Linked DNA regions of Homo sapiens: region 1 is linked to region 2. The links are contacts of gene promoters, found by promoter capture Hi-C in human tissues and cell types (Jung and others, 2019). All regions are on one chromosome and are shown on one strand. Each heading gives the region's core, a stretch centred on a gene start or on the middle of the fragment in contact. The rest is flanking DNA. Distances are from core to core; before and after follow the strand shown. Region 1 has its middle 16 kb from the start of ABCA3. Region 2 holds the start of PRSS22 (serine protease 22).

What was found. The method cuts DNA at HindIII sites, captures the fragments that hold promoters and counts their contacts. A contact is called where the count stands out against the background at its distance.
Region 1: a contact is called between a fragment that was not itself captured here and the fragment with the promoter of PRSS22 in region 2, in 2 of the 25 tissues and cell types used here (dorsolateral prefrontal cortex and spleen).

Annotation. Positions count from the first base shown.
Region 1 is chr16:2,355,335-2,358,034 of GRCh38, reverse strand. It overlaps the pseudogene ABCA17P. Among named protein-coding and RNA genes, the nearest start is that of ABCA3, 16 kb to the right of the region's middle. The HindIII fragment of the contact is 5,660 bases long and covers 1-2,700 here.
Region 2 is chr16:2,856,859-2,859,577 of GRCh38, reverse strand. PRSS22 (serine protease 22) reads left to right here and starts at 1,408. Exons shown (of 6, transcript NM_022119.4): 1 at 1,408-1,555. The coding sequence starts at 1,474. RefSeq lists enhancers at 222-821, 822-1,422, 1,423-2,023. The HindIII fragment of the contact is 21,792 bases long and covers 1-2,719 here.

The sequences.
Region 1 (2,700 bases), core at 80-2,579, 500 kb after region 2:
GCAAAAAAGGAAGCTGACACAAACCATTCCTGAGGAAGCCCAGACATAGGACTTACTAGGCAAAACTTCTAAATGGACTGTCTTAAATATTCTCAGAGCTGAAGATGATGGACAAAGAACTAAAGGAAATCTGAAGAATGAAGTGTGTACAAGCAGAAAATTTCAATAAACAGAAAAATTTTAAAGAAACCAAATAGAAATTCTGGAGCTGAAAAGCATAAAAGCTGAAACAAAATAATTCACTAGAAGAATTCAAAGATTTGAGCAAGCAGAAGACAGAATCGGCAAACCTGAAGATAGGGCAGTTAAAATTACCAAGTCTAAGGAGCAGGAAAAAAAAAATGAAGAAAAATGAACAGACCCTAAGGGACCTATGGGACACCATCAAGTGTACCAAATACACATTGTGAAAGTTCCAGGAGAAGAAAGAGATAAAAACATGTTTGAAGAAATAATGAAATAACAACTTCTCAAATGTGATCAATACATGAATCTACAGATCCAAGAAGCTCAACAAACTCCAAGTACAAGAAACTTAAAAAACCCACAAAGAGAGTTATTATAATGAAACCGTCGAATGCTAACGATAAGGAGAGAATTTTTTTTTTTTTTGAGACAGGGTCTGGCTCTGTGGCATGATCATCGTTCATTGCAGCCTTGACCAGCCAGGCTCTAGTGAGCCTCCTTCCTCACCCTCCCAAGTAGCTGGGATTATAGGCATGTAGGCATATGCCACTACGCCCAGCTAACTTTTTTATTTTTTGTAGAGATTGGGTCTGCTTGGTTGCCCAGGCTGGTCTTTAACTCCTGGCCTCAAGCGATCCTCCCACCTCTGTTGCCCAAAGTGTTGGGATTACAGGTGTGAGCCACCATTCCCAGCCCAAGGAGAGAATCTTGAAAGCAGTAGGACAGAAGAAACTTGTACAAGGGATCTTCAGTAAGATTAACAGCTAATTTCTCATCAGAAAACAGGGAGGCAAAAAAGCAGTGGGATGATATATATAAAACGCTTAAAAAAAAAAAACTGTCAAGAATCTATACCCAGCGAAACTATCTTTCAAAAATGAAGGAGAAATTAAGACATTTTTTAGGTAAATAAGAGCTAAAGAAATTTGTCTCTAGTAGACCTGCCCGAAGAAGCATGCCAAAGGAAGTCCCTCAGGCTGAAACAAAAAAATGCTAGATGTAATTTGAAGCCATATGAATAAATAATTATCAGTAAAGGTAACTTTTTAGGTAACTATAAAAACTAGCATTGGCCAGGTGCGGTGACTCACGCCTGTAATCCCAGCACTTTGGGAGGCCAAGGCAGGTGGATCACCTGAAGTCAGGAGTTCAAGACCAGCCTGGCCAACATGGTGAAACCCCGTCTCTACTAAAAATACAAAATTTAGCCAGGCATGGTGGCACACGCCTGTAATCCCAGCTACTCGGGAGGCTGAGGCTGCAGAATCACTCGAACCTGGGAGGCAGAGGTTGTAGTAAGCCAAGATTGCGCCACTGCACTCCAACCTGGGCAACCAAGAGCAAAAGTCCATCTCAAAAACAAACAAACAAAAAAAACAACTAGTATTATTGTACTTTTGGTATGTAACACCTCTGTTTCCCATATGATTTAAAAAATAGAGCCAGATACAGTGGCTCATGCCTATAATCCCAGTGACTCACAGGTTAAGACAAGAGGATCACATGAGGCCAGGAGTTCAAGACCTGCCTGGGAAACATAGTGAGATGTTCATCACTCAAATTTTTTTTAATTAGCCAAGTATGGAGGTACGCACCTGCAGTCCCAGCTACTCGAGAAGCTGAGGCAGAAGGACCACTTAAGCCCAGGAGTTCAAGGCTGCAGTGAGCTATGATCATGCCAATGTACTCCAGTCTGGGTGACAGAGCAAGACCCTGTCTCTAAAATTTTTTTTAAAAAACAAGCTTATGCACACCCATGCACTATTCATGAAAACAGAGTATGTATAGGCCATAAAGAAAATTTCAAATTGTAAGAGGTTGAATGATACTGACCACATTTCTAGATCACACTACACTAAAAGTATTAATAATAAAATAAAAACACCAAAACCAAAAAAGCACTTTTTTTAAATGAAAAACTCTCTCCTAAACTGCAAAATATTCTATCAATCAAGAAAATGAGAAGACAAGCCATAGACTGAGAGAAAATATTTGTAAAAGACATATCTGATAAAGTACTATTATCTGAAATATACAAAGAACTGTTAACAATAAGAAAACAAACAACCTGATTTAAAAATGGGCAAAAAACCTAAACAGTTACTTCACTAAAGAAATATACACATGGCAAGCCTGTAATCCCAGCACTTTGGGAGGCCGAGGTGGGCGGATCATGAGGTCAGGAGATCGAGACCATCCTGGCTAACACGGTGAAACCCTGTCTCTACTAAAAATACAAAAAATTAGCCAGGCGTGGTGGCGGGCACCTGTAGTCCCAGCTACTTGGGTGGCTGAGGCAGAAGAATGGCGTGGACCCGGGAGGCGGAGCTTGCAGTGAGCTGAGATTGGGCCACTGCACTCCAGCCTGGGCGACAGAGATTCCGTCTCAAACAAAAAAAAAAAGAAATATACACATGGCAAATAAGCATATGAAAAGATGCTCAACCTTATACATCATTAGGGAATTGCAAATTAAAACAATGAGATACCATTACACACCTTGATATGTTTTGA
Region 2 (2,719 bases), core at 159-2,658:
GGAATAATAAAGACATTTGAGGATTAGGAGGCAATGCATGGCACTCCTAAATGTTTGCTCTATTATATAAATACTATATTTATATTTGTATAAATATATTTATTACATACATATTCACTACTATGGTTTTTTTTTTTTTTTTTTGAAACAGAGTCTCGCTCTGTCGCCCAGGCTGGAGTGCAGTGGCGTGATCTCAGCTCACTGCAACCTCCGCCTCCCAGGTTCAAGCGATTCTCCTGCCTCAGCCTCCCAAGTAGATGGGACTAAGGGCGCCTGCCACCATGCCTGGCTAATTTTTTTTTTTTTGTATTTTTAGTAGAGACGGGGTTTTACTATGTTGGCCAGACTGGTATTGAACTCCTGACCTCATGATCTGTCCGTCTTGGCCTCCCAAAGTGCTGGGATTACAGGAATAAGCCACCCCACCCAGACACTATGGTTGTTTTTAATTCACCCCCGGCGGTAGCAAGGGCCCTGCTGGAGGCTTGTTGATCGAATGAGTGAAGGGGCGCAGGCTCCTGCCTCTTTGTAGAGGAGGAAGCCTGCCCTGCTTGGGTGGGAGTGTCCCAAGTGTGGGGCGCTGCAGGGCACTGAGTCAGGGAAGGTCTCACAGGATTCAGCCCCGGGTTGCCACTGTGGCAGCCGCTGGGGGGAAGCACCGAGAATCCACTCCCAGCCCAGGACCCGGCCCCCCACAGCCCAGCCCAGCAGCTCTTTGAATCCTGGGAGTCCCAGCCCTTCCCGGGGCCCCTCTTCTCTCAACCCCCCTGCTTGGCCGAGCCCTGGTGCCCATGGGCTCCTCCCCTTCCCAGGAGTCCAGGTGAGGTGAGTTGTCAGGTGTCTGAACCGCAGGGCAGAGCCCCGCCTCCAGGAACGACAGGAGGGCGGCCACCAGGAGGCCACCAAGGTCGCCACTCACCTGATTCACAGCTTTCGGGAAGTGGGTTAACGGGATTCCCAAGCCCGGGTTGCGCCAGGTCTCTGGGCTGAGTCACAGGGGCCTGGGGCCCTGCAGGTGGGAGCCGTTACTGAGCTTTGGGCACCCCCTTGATCCCTAAGGCCCTAGGACCACCCCCAACACCCAGTACCCCAGACTTCAGCCTCTCCAAACCCAGGCCCTCCCCAGCCCGGAACCCCTTCCTTTCAGTGCCCTGGCACCTTTCTCTGCCCCTGGACAATTAATGTCAGGGACCTCTGGGCCCAAGCCCCCTCCCCTGCCCTTCCAGAGGCCACATCCTGGGGTCTCAGCTAGAGCCCCCCCAGAGCCCTGTAGCGGCTGGCTTCCTCCCCGCAGCCCCGCCCTCTGCCCAGGACCCACAGCCGGGGTGGCCGCGGGAGCCACCTGGGGACTGGTCTGACGGCATTCCGCCTCCCAGGATAAAACCTGGGGCGACCTGCAGGGAACCTACACACCCTGACCCGCATCGCCCTGGGTCTCTCGAGCCTGCTGCCTGCTCCCCCGCCCCACCAGCCATGGTGGTTTCTGGAGCGCCCCCAGCCCTGGGTGGGGGCTGTCTCGGCACCTTCACCTCCCTGCTGCTGCTGGCGTCGACAGGTACGTCCGGAGGCTGCTCCTCCCTCCTCCCTCTCACCTCCACCCTCCTTCCCTCCTTCCCTCCCTCCCTCTCTCCCTCCTGGCCTTGCCTCTCTCATCTCCTTTCCGCTTCTGCTCTGTTTATCTCTTGCTCCTTAACTGCTCTGTGCCTCGGTTTCTTCTACGGCTGTGAGGATGAAACAGAAAACGCAGCAAGTACGCAGCGCGCCTCGGTCTCCAGTTACCGTCGGCGTCGCCATCGCCTGCTCCCTCTCGCCTCCGTGTTCTCCCATCTCCTCGTCCTCCGCTGCTTGCCTCTGGGGAAGCACCGTTTTGTGTTGTTCCTGCCGCAGGAGGTCAGGGGAGGGCACACCAGCGGCAGCAGCGTCCAGAGCCGAGGGGCTCAGGTCTGTGCCTCCCTCGAGGAGCCGGTCCTGGTCCCCGGAAGGCAGGCTGGACGGGAAGCTGCGGGAGGGCAGGGTCACAGCTGTGCAGCCAGGGCCTGGCCAGGCCCCAGGAAATGCCCCGCCGGTAGGGGCCCTGGGGTTGAGAGACTTGAGAGTCTCCCTGGGCACTGGAGGGCTAGAGGTTCCTCACCACCAGGTACTCAAGGGGACCCCCTCCTCACTGGGCGCTGGGACGCCTGCTCACTGGGCGCTGGGACCCCTCCTCACTGGGCGCTGGGACCCCCTCCTCACTGAGCGCTGGGACCCCCTCGTCACTGGGCGCTGGGGACCCCTCCTCACTGGGCGCTGGGGAGCCCTCCTCACTGGGCGCTGGGGACCCCTCCTCACTGGGCGCTGGGGAACCCTCCTCACTAGGCGCTGGGGAGCCCTCCTCACTGGGCGCTGGGGACCCCTCCTCACTGGGTGCTGGGACCCCTTCCCACTGGGCACTGGACCCCTTCTCACTGGGTGCTGGGGGCTTCTCGCTGGGCGCTGAGGGACCCTCCTCACTGGGTACTGGGACCCCTCCTCACTGGGCGCTGAGGGACCCTCCTCAGGGGGTGCTGGGACCCCTCCTCACTGGGCGCTGAGGGACCCTCCTCACTGGGTGCTGGGACCTCCACCTCACTGGGCACTGGGATCCCTTCTTACTGGGTGTTGGGGGCCTTCCTCACTGGGCGTTGAGGGCCCCTCACCACTGTGTCCTGGGGCCCCTCACCGGCCTAACCGTTTCCTTCTC